Regions from separate parts of the Homo sapiens genome. Here regions 1, 3, 4 and 5 are each linked to region 2. The links are contacts of gene promoters, found by promoter capture Hi-C in human tissues and cell types (Jung and others, 2019). All regions are on one chromosome and are shown on one strand. Each heading gives the region's core, a stretch centred on a gene start or on the middle of the fragment in contact. The rest is flanking DNA. Distances are from core to core; before and after follow the strand shown.

What was found. The method cuts DNA at HindIII sites, captures the fragments that hold promoters and counts their contacts. A contact is called where the count stands out against the background at its distance.
Region 1: the fragment with the promoter of SPN here is called in contact with the fragment with the promoter of SPNS1 in region 2 in 4 of the 25 tissues and cell types used here (H1 embryonic stem cells, IMR-90 fibroblasts, aorta and 1 more).
Region 3: the fragment with the promoter of KCTD13 here is called in contact with the fragment with the promoter of SPNS1 in region 2 in 2 of the 25 tissues and cell types used here (hippocampus and lymphoblastoid cells).
Region 4: a fragment that was not itself captured here is called in contact with the fragment with the promoter of SPNS1 in region 2 in 1 of the 25 tissues and cell types used here (dorsolateral prefrontal cortex).
Region 5: the fragment with the promoter of C16orf54 here is called in contact with the fragment with the promoter of SPNS1 in region 2 in 4 of the 25 tissues and cell types used here (dorsolateral prefrontal cortex, mesenchymal stem cells, pancreas and 1 more).

The regions. Positions count from the first base shown.
Region 1 is chr16:29,661,985-29,664,684 of GRCh38, reverse strand. SPN (sialophorin) reads right to left here and starts at 1,438. Exons shown (of 2, transcript NM_003123.6): 1 at 1,369-1,438; 2 at 1-990. The coding sequence starts at 956. RefSeq lists silencers at 334-453, 1,714-1,773 and enhancers at 1,954-2,033, 2,674-2,700. The HindIII fragment of the contact is 34,536 bases long and covers 1-2,700 here.
Region 2 is chr16:28,973,527-28,976,226 of GRCh38, reverse strand. SPNS1 (SPNS lysolipid transporter 1, lysophospholipid) reads right to left here and starts at 1,449. Exons shown (of 12, transcript NM_032038.3): 1 at 835-1,449; 2 at 670-735. The coding sequence starts at 1,075. RefSeq lists a silencer at 1,093-1,182, a cis regulatory region at 1,219 and enhancers at 1,135-1,304, 1,403-1,512, 1,593-1,712. The HindIII fragment of the contact is 29,978 bases long and covers 1-2,700 here.
Region 3 is chr16:29,924,779-29,927,478 of GRCh38, reverse strand. KCTD13 (potassium channel tetramerization domain containing 13) reads left to right here and starts at 1,253. Exons shown (of 6, transcript NM_178863.5): 1 at 1,253-1,689. The coding sequence starts at 1,446. It overlaps KCTD13-DT (KCTD13 divergent transcript), which reads right to left and starts at 1,256. Exons shown (of 3, transcript XR_001752362.2): 1 at 1-1,256. RefSeq lists a silencer at 1,348-1,587. The HindIII fragment of the contact is 18,228 bases long and covers 1-2,700 here.
Region 4 is chr16:29,831,652-29,834,351 of GRCh38, reverse strand. It overlaps MVP (major vault protein), which reads right to left. Exons shown (of 15, transcript NM_005115.5): 4 at 496-619; 5 at 286-417. Among named protein-coding and RNA genes, the nearest start is that of MVP, 13 kb to the right of the region's middle. The HindIII fragment of the contact is 4,346 bases long and covers 1-2,700 here.
Region 5 is chr16:29,744,673-29,747,372 of GRCh38, reverse strand. C16orf54 (chromosome 16 open reading frame 54) reads left to right here and starts at 1,383. Exons shown (of 2, transcript NM_175900.4): 1 at 1,383-1,462; 2 at 2,422-2,700. The coding sequence starts at 2,422. LOC124903673 (a long non-coding RNA gene) reads right to left here and starts at 2,126. Exons shown (of 2, transcript XR_007065046.1): 1 at 1,988-2,126. RefSeq lists enhancers at 447-516, 1,044-1,093. The HindIII fragment of the contact is 21,250 bases long and covers 1-2,700 here.

The DNA.
Region 1 (2,700 bases), core at 189-2,688, 690 kb before region 2:
ACGGTCACTGTCACGGCCCCCTCCTCAGGGACCTGGGCTGGCCCAGCCCAGGCGTCCACCACCCCGTTACGCTTGCCGCCTCTGCTCAGCACGAGGGCCCCAGTCCGCCGCTTCTGCCGCCGGCGCCACAGCAGGAGCAGAGCCACGAGGACTATGACCGCCAGCAGGGCCACAAGCACAGCCACTGGCAGCATGCCTCGTGAGTTCTCATCTGGGTTCCGGAAGGGCACAGTGCTTGCGTTGGTGGAGGTCGTTGGAGACATCATTGTAGATAGTTTTACGCTAGAGACCTGGGGTCCACTGGCCCCGCTGGAGGGCTCCAGAGAGCCAGTTGTCATGGTAACAGGGGGTCCAGTGGTCCCAGTGGAGGTCTCCAGAGAGTCAGTTGCCATGGTAACAGGGGGTCCAGAGGTGCCTTTGGAAGTCTCCAGAGAGACAGTTGCCATGGTAAGAGGGGGTCCAGAGGTGCCTCTGGAGGTCTCCAGAGAGCTAGCTGCCGTGGTAACAGGGGCTCCACTGGTCCTACTGGAGGTTTCTGGAGAGTTCGTTGTTATGGTTCCACCTGTCACGGTGTGGGATCCTAGAGAGTTTGCTGTTATGGGAACAGCAGGATGACTGGTTGCATGAGGGGTTTCCTGGGGCACTGATGACATCTTGATGGAAACTTCCTGGTAGGTTGTTGGCTCAGGTAAAGGGGAACCAGTGCTGGCACCAATGGAAGTCCAAAGAGGGGATCCCTCATTGATGGAAGTTGAGGGAGGTAGGGCTGAGGTCTGGTCCCCAGTGCTGTCGGCCTTAGGGTCACTTGTTATTGAAGTGGTGTACATCTTTGAGCTCAGGGGCTCGCTAGTAGAGACCAAAGGCTCTCCGGAGGTGGGTGTCTGCACTGCTGTTGTGCTCCCCAGAGCGTCTGGGCTTACCACCAGCACCCCAAGGAGAAGGAGAAGCGTGGCCATTTCCAGGCAAACAGGCAGGAGCAAGAGCTGGGACCTGCAGGTGGGCAGCCGGAGAAGCAGAACACGCGGGAGTTGCCGGAGGACCTGGCCGGGCCTCCCCTCTGCCCACTTCCCTGCCAACGGCCAGGCCCAACCTGCGGTTTAACGGTTTTTTCCATGCTGGCTTTTACTGTTATCAGAAATGACAGAGGAACAGATGCTGGCAGCTCCCCCATCAGCCCCATCCTGAGGCTCCCTCCAGCCTCAGCAGCTTAGATTCCAGCAGTGACCAGCCCCTCCTGGCCTTCCCTGACCCTGTGCAGCCCAATGGCTCCCAATCTCTTCCCATCATAACCTGTCAGAGTCTTTTCAAGCCACAGGCACATTCCCAGGCCCACTGAGGCCCCTACCCCACCAAGTCTCACCCTCTTACCGGCTCGGCTGATAAGGACGCAGCACTGGGGCCAGGTCACTCCACCACCTCCCGAGGCTGGGGCAAGACTGGGAAGGACAGGGCCCCAAGGGGAAAGGAAGTGGGCCCTGGCTCCACCCACCCCACCCACCCCTCCATCCTGCCCCACCCGCCTGCTCCCACAGCTGCTGGGCGAAGACAGCACCATCACCTGCTCCTTCAGGGGCCAGCGGGGTGCCTGGGGGTCTGGGGCTCACCTGAGGGAGGCAGGGAAGCGTGGGATCTGGAATCAGGATTCCTGGCTCTTGGCTGAGGAATGGGATGGAAGTGGTGATGCTAGGGAGGGCTGGGCTCAGAGGTGGGTGGTGGGAATGTGAGCCTGAGAACTCAAGGGTGCAGAGGAGGAGGTGGGAGGGGAGGGTGGTTTCCTTTGCATTTGTGGTCCCCAAGCTGTTAGGCCAGGAGCTGAGTGGCGCCATTTCCTGCCCTCAGAGCTCCCAGGAAGTAGCAGGGCAAGAGGAAGCCCCCGAGTCTGGCTGGGGGCCGTGAAAACCTTTGCAGGCTGGTGAGCTCTTGACTCTGTCCGGGGAGCTGGGGGTCACCACAGTGGCCCCCAGTCACAGAGACGTGGCTAAACCAAGGTGGTTCCTACACACTGCATATGCTAGGATCTTATTTCTGCAAACTAGTAAAGATGTGGGAATCTTTTTTTTTTTTTTTAAGGCGGAGTTTAGTGCAATGGCATGATCTTGGCTCGGCTCAGCACAATGTCTGCCTCCTAGGTTCAAGCAATTCTCCTGCCTCGGCCTCCTGAGTAGCTGGGATTACAGGCTTGCACCACTGTGCCCGGCTAATTTTGTATTTTTCGTAGAGACGAGGTTTCTCCATGTTGGTCAGGCTGGTCTCGAACTCCTGACCTCAGGTGGTCCATCCGCCTCAGCCTCCCCAAGCGCTAGGATTACAGGTGTGAGCCACCGCGCCTGGCCAGATATGGGAATCTATATGGAAAACCGTCTGGAAAGATATCTACTAAGGGATTCACCTAATTGTCTTTGGATAGGTGAGAGTAGGAGGTGGGGGTATTTTCTTCTTTGAATGGTTCCCATTTCCTGACTTTCCTCTAATTAGCAAGCTTTGACTCTCGGTTTGTGTATGTTTTTGGTTTTTGTTCTTGAAAAACGAAAATCAGTCCCGGGTGTGGTGATACATTATGCTGGCAGTCCAGGCCAAAGTGGGAGGACCTCCTGAGCCCAAGAGTTTGAAACCAGCCTGGGCAACGTAGCAAAACTCCTATCACTAAAAAAATAAATAATTTTTTAAAATCAAAACTGATTTGTATATTTTAAGAGCAAC
Region 2 (2,700 bases), core at 200-2,699:
GATCTCGGCTCACTGCAACCTCTGCCTCCCGGGTTCAAGTAACTCTCATGCCTCAGCCTCCCAAGTACCTGGGATTACAGGCGCTCGCTACCATGCCTGGCTAATTTTTGTATTTTTAGTACAGATGGGGTTTCGTCATGTTGACCAGGCTGGTCTTGAACTCCTAACTTCAAGTGATCCACTCATCTTGGCCTCCCAAAGTGCTGGGACTACAGGCGTGAGTCACCACACCCAACCCTCCTGCCATTATTTACTGGGTGTCTACCATGTGCCAAACACTGCACTAGGCCCTTCACAGACAATCTTTTAGTTAATCTTCACATCAGTCCTAAGAGATGATTCGTGTTATTACTTGTTCCATCTTATAGACAAGGAAAATGAGGCTTAGAGAGGTTGAGTGCCTTGCCTACCATCACACAATAAGTGGAAGAGCTGAGATTTAAACCCAGGTCTGTCTTCACCTGGGTGAAGTTATACTTAGTTATACTAAACTGACTCCCTCTTTAAATGTGGTGTCCCGCTGACCCCCGAGCAACATCAGGGCCATCACCTCCCCTAACTGGCCACAAAACCTCCATTAATGAGCCCCTAGACAGGCCAGCGCGTGGCCCCACTTGAGACAGAACAGAAGGAGGAGCGGCTGTGTGACCAGGAGTGGTCCCCACTCACCGGTCTGGATGAGCCCAGAGCTACTGTCCCCGATGTTGAAGAACTGCTCGATGTCGGGAAGGACGCCTGAGGAGAAAATTCAGGATGGTCCGGCAAAGCAGCGCCACCCTCGGGACCCTGGCTCCCCTCTCCTAGACTATCTTCCTCCCAGAAGTGAGTCCCTACCAGCCACGGTGAAGCGGTCCATGTAGTTCAGGAGATTGATGTAGCACAGCACCGCCACTATGAGAGCCGAACGGCCGGGAGACAGGCCGGTGATGCGCTGCAGCCCCTCCTGGTCCGGGACCTCGGGCTCCTCGGACTTCGGGTTCCCCGTGGACCCTGGCAACCCCGGGGTGCCAGGCACTGGCCCGTCGTCCGGGTCATCCGCCTGGCTGAGGAAGGGCGCGGTGTCGGACCCGGCCATGGTCCCGGGGGGCCGCGCCCGCCCGCGCTCCGGTCCCACCGACGATCCCACCTGCGAGGGGAGGAGGCTGGAGAAAGGAGGATGGACCGAACACAGGCGAGGGAAGTGCGCCCGGAGACGGGGAGCTTGCCCTGAAGCACAGAGCACCACTGAGAAGGGACCCGGGCCCTGTCACGCCTCCCCGTCTCAGTAGACACACAGCGCGGAGGGGACGTGCGGAATACACGTGATGTCGGGGACAGGAGCGGGCTGAAGAGGGCACGATCCCACGCGGAGGCCACCCCTCACCCGGGGTAGGAGCCCGCTGCACTTGCTGTCGCTCAGCCCGGGCGCTGCACCACGGCAGCCGCCATGTTGCTTAAAGCCGGTCATGTGACGCGGGAGCCAGGGTGGAAGGGGTCCCCGCGGGCAAGCCTTCGACACGTGACCTGCCACCCGACTACGGAAGCCTCTTGGGCGTTCCGCCCGGGCTCACATGTCATGTGACGGCCGGCCGGTCGCCGGAGTAACCAGGAACTTTCCCAGACCCTGCGGTCCCTGGAGCGTCAAAAAGAGCGTCCCCGTGACTAGGTGGAGTCGCCTGCCCTTCCGAATCTCAGCTGTCTTATCTGGAACCCCCACGTGGCAGACTCCATCTTCATCAAACGGGATAATGGGGTCTCAAAAGGTTTTGGAAGTAGTAGATACCTCTAAAAGCCAAGGAGCAGCCCTAGTTCTCGGGAACCATCCTGTCTTCCTCCCAGGGTCTGGTTGGCGGCTTTTTACTCTCAATAAAGGATGGATGGATGGATGGATAAATGGATGGATGGAGCTTGAGCAGCGCGATGGATGGAGGATTGGAGGGACGGAGGGATGGACGGACGGACGGATGGAGCTTGAGCAACGCCCCGCCCTTTGTTGAGATTCCCCAACCCTGCTAGCCTTGTAAACTCCTGAGCCTTCACCGTGGACACTTAAATACCTATTAAAGGAAGCGTCTCCACCCGCCGCTCCTGGAGCATATTTTTCCTCACTCCAATCGGGATTGGAGCCCTTGCGCCCTCCGGTGGGCTTTTGTAGGGCAGGCAGGAGCTCCTAGCCTAAGGAGACTCCCAGCTGCAGGACTAGGGTCAAAGGGATAACTTGGGAGTGGTTCTTTAGTGGCACCCTATAATCTCCAAGCTACATCTAATAAAGCACTCTAAGTAAAATTAGTATAGTTCTGTGCAAATACAGCTTCAAGACCCATCTTTCAACCAGCCCTTAAAGGCCCTCTACTGAAATCCTGGAATCTCGTGGGGAGAGCATCCCCCAACCCCAAAACGCCTTGTTAGAAACTATTTCGAGTCCGAATACCCATAATTGGCTTTAACCCCCCCCCCCCCCCCATATTAGGTGCCTCGTGTTTCAGAACCTTAAGCTTGGTTTCCCCTGGCGGACAGGAACTTCAGGTTGCAGGCATTTAATTCCCTCAACAAGATATTATTGAACATGTATGTGCCTGGCATTTTACCAGGTTTCAGGGAAAGGCAGACTTACTCCCTTCCCTCGTGGAGCTTATCTAGAGAGTGATACGCATTGTAAATTGCACCTCTGAAGTGAAAAGGCAAGCCACAGGTTGAATGAAAATATTTACAAAGCATCTA
Region 3 (2,700 bases), core at 4-2,503, 950 kb before region 2:
GCTTCTGGAGTGAGGGTGCAAACCAGCTCCCAGCTGGCAGCAGTTGCTTTTCTCTTTTACACCGCCACACTCGAAATCAGAAAATTGGCAACCCCTTTGGTAGAACATGAGCTCCCGGTCACTACAGGCCCATTTATACCCAGTAACAGGCCCAGGTCACACATTTACACTCCGACCTTCCTCCTGCGTGTGCATCCCTTACACCAACCACGCCCAGAGAAAAGTCACTCGTCTAGCATCTCCCAGGGACCTGCTGGCAGGGCTGAAGATAGAACTCTGACTCTGTGTTTTCCCTCCAGCAACCCCCCTTGCTAGACATTAAGACAGATTGTTAAATCCCTGATGTATCGGCTTCTAAACTGGATGCAGATCGGGTCAGATAAAAACACTTCTCAGTGCACCTTCTTGTCAACAGTGGGTTCCTATCTATTCTTCTTTCTTTTGGGATTGGGTGCTAGGTCCCACGACATTAGCTGGGATTCTAAGACCTTTGCTCAGCTGCTGCGGCCACCACTGACACGCCCTCTGCTCCTCAAATACGGAGAACAGTTCAGTGTTCCTGCCTGAGGATCTCTGCATTTGCCTTCCCTCTGCCTGGAACTCTTCCCTCACATCCGCTTCCCAGCTTCAGCTCGGCATCACCTCCTCAGAGAGGCCTTCCATCCTTGGTGCCCGGGCACCACTGCTACCCGTTTTGGCCTCTGTTTTTTTTTTTTTTTTCAAAGGACGTTATGTTGCCCAGGCTAGAGTGCAACGGTCCGATCACGGATTACTGCAGCTTCCAACTCCTGGCTTCAAGCGCTCCTTCTGCCTCGGCCTCCCGAGTAGCTAGGCTTACAGGCTGGGGTTACAGGTGTGAGCCACAGCGCCCGGCCGCTTTGGCCTCCTTTAAGAGCTTCCCTCCGCGCTTTGTTCGCAGTTCTGGTCACAGTCTGTTCAGTGCGCGGGGCTGGGAGGCGGGAAACTGCCCAATGCCCAGACCTCTCTGTCTGTTTCCCCTCAAGCTCGTGAAGCTCTCTGACAGCAGAGACCCAATCACGAGGTGGAGACTTCGCTTTCCACATCGGGCAGGGGGTCGGCCGCATCCTCGATCTGGTCCTGGTGACTCGAGACCAGAGAGGAGCGCACGTCGACCCGCCCGGGGAACCCGCAGGCCACACGCCAAACCTCTACGGGATCCCCCAGCGAGGCCACTGCGCATGCTCCATACTCGCAGCCCCGCCCCCATTCAGGGGCGGGGCCGCGCCTGCGCAGCTGCCCGGCGCCGGCTTCCGGGTGGTGCGAGCGAGATGGGGCGGAGGGCCGGTCTTGCAGAGTAGCTGCGGTGAGTGGGCGTGTGCGCCGAGCGGTCTGGCCCAAGGGCTGGGGGCCGGCCGAGGGTCTTCGGGAGCAGGCCGCAGGGCGCGGAGAGATCCTGGGATCGCCGTCCGCCGCTGCTACCCGGCATGTCGGCGGAGGCCTCGGGCCCGGCTGCCGCCGCGGCCCCGTCCCTGGAAGCCCCCAAGCCCTCGGGTCTCGAGCCTGGCCCCGCCGCCTACGGTCTCAAGCCGCTGACCCCGAACAGCAAATACGTGAAGCTGAACGTGGGCGGCTCGTTGCACTACACCACGCTGCGCACCCTCACGGGACAGGACACCATGCTCAAAGCCATGTTCAGCGGCCGCGTGGAGGTGCTGACCGATGCCGGAGGTACGAGCGGCGCCCCTACCGTGCCCCCACCCCAGACCCCCAACTCCCGTTCCCCGCAGTCTCTCACCACCGGGGCTCCTCATGCCCCTTCTCTCTGCCCGCTACTGTCCAGTCAACTCATTCTCAGCTCCCTCCAGCCCCCACATCCCATCTCCTCCCCTTTCTCATTCATAATTTCTCTTCTCCTCCCCCAATCCTTTACCCCCAGCAATAACCAACACTTACGGAACCCCTAACTGCCAGGCGCTGTGGTAAGTGATTGAACGTGTCAGTTCATAATCCTCATGACCACCTCTCCCACCCTTCACCCCTCAGCTCAAGACTTGGGAACTAGCCCTGCTGCCTGCAGTACTACTCCTGGCAGCCTTCCTCAGTTTCTTCCGACTGCCCAGCCTTTTGTTTCCCTCTCTGCTTCAGAACTGCTCACAGCCAGCCAGGAGAGCTGGGAGATCTTGTTTGCCTCTGTGTTCCCCTGACACAGGTCCCTGTACACTCTAGGAATCCACCTGTATACACACATTGCAGAAGGAGGCTGCTTTGGGTTTGCCAGGGACACCAGAGTGGAGGGTGGACAGGTCTCCTTGGCAGGTGAACCTTACCTTCTTGGAGTGTTGCATTCAAGTATGGACCCTTCGTGCCCAAGTGAGACTTTGAAGTTTTGGAGTTTGGGAGTGGGAGAGTCTTAAGGGAGGGGTTAACGAGGACTGTGAGAGCAGGAGAATAAAAATTTGAGAGGCGGAGATCTGCCTTCAAGTATCAAAGGTGAAGAATTCGGCCAGGTGCGGTGGCTCACGCCTTTAATCCCAGCACTTTGGGAGGCCGAGGCGGTGGATCACCTGAGGTCAGGAGTTCGAGACCAGCCTGACCAATATGGCGAAACCCCGTCTCTACTAAAAATACAAAAATTAGCCGGGCGTGGTGGTGTGCGCCTGTAGCCCAGCTACTCGGGAGGCTGAGACAGGAGAATCGCTTGAACCTGGGAGGCGGAGGTTGCAGTGAGCCGAGACAGCG
Region 4 (2,700 bases), core at 163-2,662, 860 kb before region 2:
ATCCAGAATCAGGTAAGTCATGGCCACTGCCCACAGCTCATGGTGAAGGTGAGGGAAGGAAAAGCCACATCCGCATGGTCATGGTCACATTTTCCAGCCCAAGTGGAAACAGCATGAAGCGGGGGTGGGGAAGGAAGAGCAGTGGGTGGCCCTCAACAGCTTTCAAAAGATACCAGGAAAGCGCCTCTCTGGGGCTACAGGAGGCTTTCCTCAACCTTCCCCTGCTTCCCCTGCAGTGGGGACCCCTCCTGCCCACCCACCATCATCGCCCCTTGGTGACCCCACCTGTCACCCTCTCCTTGCCGTCCCGGTCCCAGCACTCCTTGCGGGCCCTGAGCCGCAGAGCCTGGTTCTGCCTGATGATGGTGGCCTGAATGATCTCCACGACCTCCACTTCCTTCCGGGGGATGTACGTGCCTGGGGAGGGAAGGTGATGGTCAGAAGGTATCAGGGCTATGACAGGAAGGCAGGGAGCCCTATGGAGACAGAACTTACCAGGTCCCTCGAAAAGCCACTCATCTCCTGCCACCACCTTGTCTCCATCTTTATCCTCAAAATCAAGCAGCGCCTTTAGATGGAGGGCAGTGTTGGGCAGAACCACCTGCAGGGGTGTGATGTCCTAGTGGGGAAGAAGGTGGAGACACAGAACCATCAGTGCTGTGACCCCAGGGCCAAGCCTGATGCTCTGGAGGCGGGTCCACAACATCCATCTCTGTATGTCCTGAAATAAGACTGGGGTGGAGGCCGGGCACAGTGGCTCACACCTGTCATCCCAGAACTTTGGGAGACTGAGGTAGGAGGATTGCTTGACCTCAGACATTCAAGAACCAGCCTGGGCAACATAGCAAGATCCCATCTCTAAAAAAAAAAAAAAAAAAAAAAAGTGTAGCCAGGCATGGTGGCGGCGCACACCTGTAGTCCCAGCTACTCGGGAGGCTGAGGTGGGAGGATCACTTGAGCCCAGGAGGTTAAGGCTTCAGTGAGCTATGACTGCACCACTGCACTTCAGCCTGGGCAGCAGAGCAAGACCCTGTCTCAGGAGTTCAGATGAAGGAGAAGTTAGAGAAGGCCCTTTGAACTGAAACTGGGGCTCAAAGGAAGAGCTGGCTTTTTTTTATTTTTGGAGATGGGGTCTTCCTATGTCATCCAGGCTGGACTGCAGTGGTACAACCATGGCTCACAACAGTCTCAATCTCCCAGGCTCATGTGATCCTTCTGTCTCAGCCTCCTGAGTGGCTGGGATTACAGGTGTGTCACCACCCCCAGCTAATTTTTTTTTTTTTTTTTGAGACAGAGTCTTGCTCTGTCACCCAGGCTGGAGCGCAGTGGCGCAATCTCAGCTCACTGCAATCTCCGCCTCCCAGGTTCAAGTAATTCTCATGCCTCAGCCTCCCAAGTAGCTGGGATTACAGGCGCATGCCACCACGCCTGGCTAATTGTTGTATGTTTAGTAGAGATGGGTTTTCGCCATGTTGGCCAGCCTGGTCTCAAACTCCTGACCTCAAGTGATCTGCCTACCTTGGCCTCCCAAAGTGCTGGGATTACAGGCGTGAGCCACTGTGCCCGGCTGAACATATTTAAAATGAAAGCTTAGGCAGGGCTTGGTGGCTCACACCTGCAATCCCAGCATTTTGGGAGAATGAGGTGGAAGGATCGTTTGAGCCCAGGAGGTTGAGGCTGCAGTGAGCTATGATCACCCCACTGCACTCTCGTCTAGGCAACAGGGGGAGATCCAGAAAAAAAAAAAAAAAAAAAGGCCAGGCGCGGTGGCTCACGCCTGTAATCCCAGCACTTTGGGAGGCCAAGGCAGGTGGATCATGACGTCAGGAGATCGAGACCACCCTGGCTAACACGGTGAAACCCCATCTCTACTAAAAACACAAAAAGTTAGCCGGGTGTGGTGGTGGGCGCCTGTAGTCCCAGCTACTCGGGAGGCTGAGGCAGGAGAATTGCGTGAACCTGGGAGGCAGAGCTTCCAGTTAGCCGAGATTATGCCACTGTACTCCAGCCTGGGCAACAGAGTGAGACTCCATCTCAAAAAAAAAAAAAAAAAAAAAAAGGTACAAGAATCCCTATATACTTTTCACTTGGATTCCTTAAGGGTTATTGTCTTAATCATTCTTCATTTTCTCTCTACACACACACTTCTTCCCCCAAACTGTCTGCACCTAAGTGGACATGAATGTCTCTAAAAGTTCCCCATGTTCTGCTATTATGCTTTCAGGATCAAGCAGCACTGGTTAGTAAAGTCAGTAAGAAAACCATTAAATGGGGCTGGACACGGTGGCTCATGCCTGTAATCCCAGCACTTTGGGAGGCCGAGGCGGGCGGATCATGAGGTCAGGAGATCAAGACCATCCTGGCTAACACGGTGAAACCCCGTCTCTATTAAAAACAAACAAACAAACAAACAAAAAACCCAAAACCATTAAATGGCCAGAAGGTAAAGGTGGAAGAACAGGTAAAGGAATGAAGGTGGGACACCCACCTGCTCAGGCCCAGGCCTGAGGCCAACGGGGACAAGAGCCTGGCTGTAGGTTCAGGCCTGTGATGGCTTCTCCTAGAACAGGCACAGCCTGGGGCCTGGGCTTGTCACTGCTGCTTTGGCACTGCCCACCAGTGTCTGGCACCGGGTGAATGAACTGCTTAACCTTGGCACATGTCATTTAATGCCAGACTGGCTGGGCACTTCTGGTAGGC
Region 5 (2,700 bases), core at 134-2,633, 770 kb before region 2:
GTGATCCACCCGCCTCGGTCTCCCAAAGTGCTGGGATTACAGGCATGAGCCACCTCGCCCAGCCCAGGGATTTCTATCTATTCTTCCACCACCCTGGCCACTACATGCTCACCCACACATACATTGGTCATGCGACTTTGGTCATGAAATCTCTTTTCTTTAAGCCTTACTTTTGTCATCTGTGGATGAGTCAAACTAGAGAATCTCAGAAAGTCACCTGGACTCCAGAGCCTGATGACATCTTGTCACACTCTGCTCCAGGCTCCTCCCACCCTCAGCAGCAGGAAAGAGGGACAGACATGAGGATGGTCAGGGTTTTGGAAACAGGCCCACGCCTGTTTTTATACCCTGGACTCCTCTCAGAGGCTTGACATTTTTGTTACCCAAGCCTCACCTCACTGATATTTTCCAACCAAAATGGGGGCTAAATGGTCTGAAGAGAGAGAGACTTATGTTAATTAAAAGTATGAGGCAGGGGCCAGTGTGGTAGCTCACACCTGTAATCCCAGCACTTTGGGAGGCTGAGGCAGGAGGATCTCTTGAGGCCAGGAGCTTGAGACCAGCCTGGGCAACATAGCAAGAGCCCATCTCTACCAGAAAAAAAAAAAAAAGGTGTGAAGCAAGCTGGCCAAGCAGGGGGTGCCTGTGGGGGCTGCATGGCAGGAGCAGATCTGGGGAGGCACCGTGGATAAGACAAGGCAGGATGGGGTGGGGCATCCTCCCAGGAGGAACGGGGGAGGCACCATGGTTCTCTGGGAATGTACGGGCTAAAGTCCCAGTGTCCTATTTCTTTTTCTTTTCTTTTCTTTTCTTTTTTTTTAAGACGGAGTCTCACTCTGTTGCCCAGGCTGGAGTGTGGTGGCACGATCTCAGCTCACTGCAACCTCCGAGTCCCGGGTTCAAGCGATTCTCCCTGCCTCAGCCGCCTGAGCAGCTGAGATTACAAGTGCCCGTCACCATGCCCAGCTAATTTTTGTATTTTTCAGTAGAGATGGGGTTTCGCCATGTTGGCAGGCTGGTCTCGAACTCCTGACCTCAGGTGACTTGCCCACCTTGACCTCCCAAAATGCTGGGATTACAGGGGTGAGCCACTGTGCCTGGCCCCGGCGTCCTCTTTCTCAGCTTTTCGGTGAATGTTCTGGGGCTCAGGGCCTGGCTATGGGGTGACACTAAGTTCAACAGAACCATTGCCCATTCCAGCCCCACCTTACCCCAGGAAAAGCCTCCTCACCGCAGTGACCACATCCCCTTGGGTTGCTTTGGAAACAAACACTCCCCAGGGGCAGACGAGTTGGGGCACAGTTGCCCAGCAACAGGCGGTGCCCTCCCTTCCGCCTTCATCCGAGGCCGGGCCTCTACGTCTGAGAGGCGGACCGCCCTGCACCCTCCAAGCCTGCACCTCTTAGTCCAGCACCAGGAAGAGTGGCTCTAGGAGGGAGAGGAGCCCAGGGACTGACCCAAGGTGAGTTGAGGGGTGCAGGAGGCCCCCTGCAGATGGAGGATGTGGGGGACAGAGAGGTGTGCAGAGACAAACGAGAGATAGAGACAGGCCAGAGCCTGGGCAAAGCTGGGGAGCCCAGGAGGGGTGCAGAGGCGCCTCCGGAGGCCTGGCCCGGCCCGGCCCGGCAGCAGATTCCGTGGAGCCTATGAGAGCAAGATCAAGTCCGAGGAGAATGGTGAGGGGCGAAGGAGCCTCAAGGGGCCAGCGGAGGTGCTGGCGGCAGGCGGTGGGGGAGACACACGCAGGGGAGCCAGTGGGAGGGGAGGTTCTCATTTCTTCACCCACCACTTCCTCTCTAGGTCTGAGCAAGACTTGAGGGGGCCGAGTGGGGAGGAAAGAAGCCCTTGAGACCTTTCTTGTCTGAGGCACCCTGGGGTCTGGGAGGGAAATGGGGATTCTGGAAAGGCCTGGAGAGCCAGGCAGGAGGGCCTGGCTGTGCCCCGAGGTAGGCTGCCTGTCCTCCCACCCCACCTGGCTCACGCTTACCCTTTCTGGTCCCTCTTGCTTCTCTGTCTCTCCAGAATGTTCTTTTTCATTTTTGAGAAAGGGTCTTGCTCTATTGCCCAGGCTGGAGGACAGTGGTGCAATCTGGGGTCACTGCAGCTTCAAACTCCTGGGCTCAAGTAATCCTCCCACCTCAGCTTCCTGTGTAGCTGGGACTACAGGTGTGAGCCACCACACCCAGCTAGTTTTTAAATTATTTTTAGAGATGAGGTTTCACTGTGTGTCCAGGCTGGTCTTGAACTCCTGGGCTCAAGTGATCCTCCCGCCTCGACCTCTCAAAGTGCTGGGATTCCAGGCATGAGCCCCCATGCCCAGCCCTTCTCCCAGGCTTTCCTGGACACCTGCTGCCTCTCTCTCATCTTGGTTGTGCCCCCTCTGCCTCATTTACTTCCTCTTCTCACCCCTGTGTCTCTCAGATGCCGTTGACTCCAGAGCCGCCCTCTGGGCGCGTGGAGGGGCCCCCCGCATGGGAAGCAGCCCCATGGCCCTCACTGCCCTGTGGGCCCTGCATCCCCATCATGCTGGTCCTGGCCACCCTGGCTGCGCTCTTCATCCTCACCACCGCTGTGTTGGCTGAACGCCTGTTCCGCCGTGCTCTCCGCCCAGACCCCAGCCACCGTGCACCCACCCTGGTGTGGCGCCCAGGAGGAGAGCTGTGGATTGAGCCCATGGGCACCGCCCGAGAGCGCTCTGAG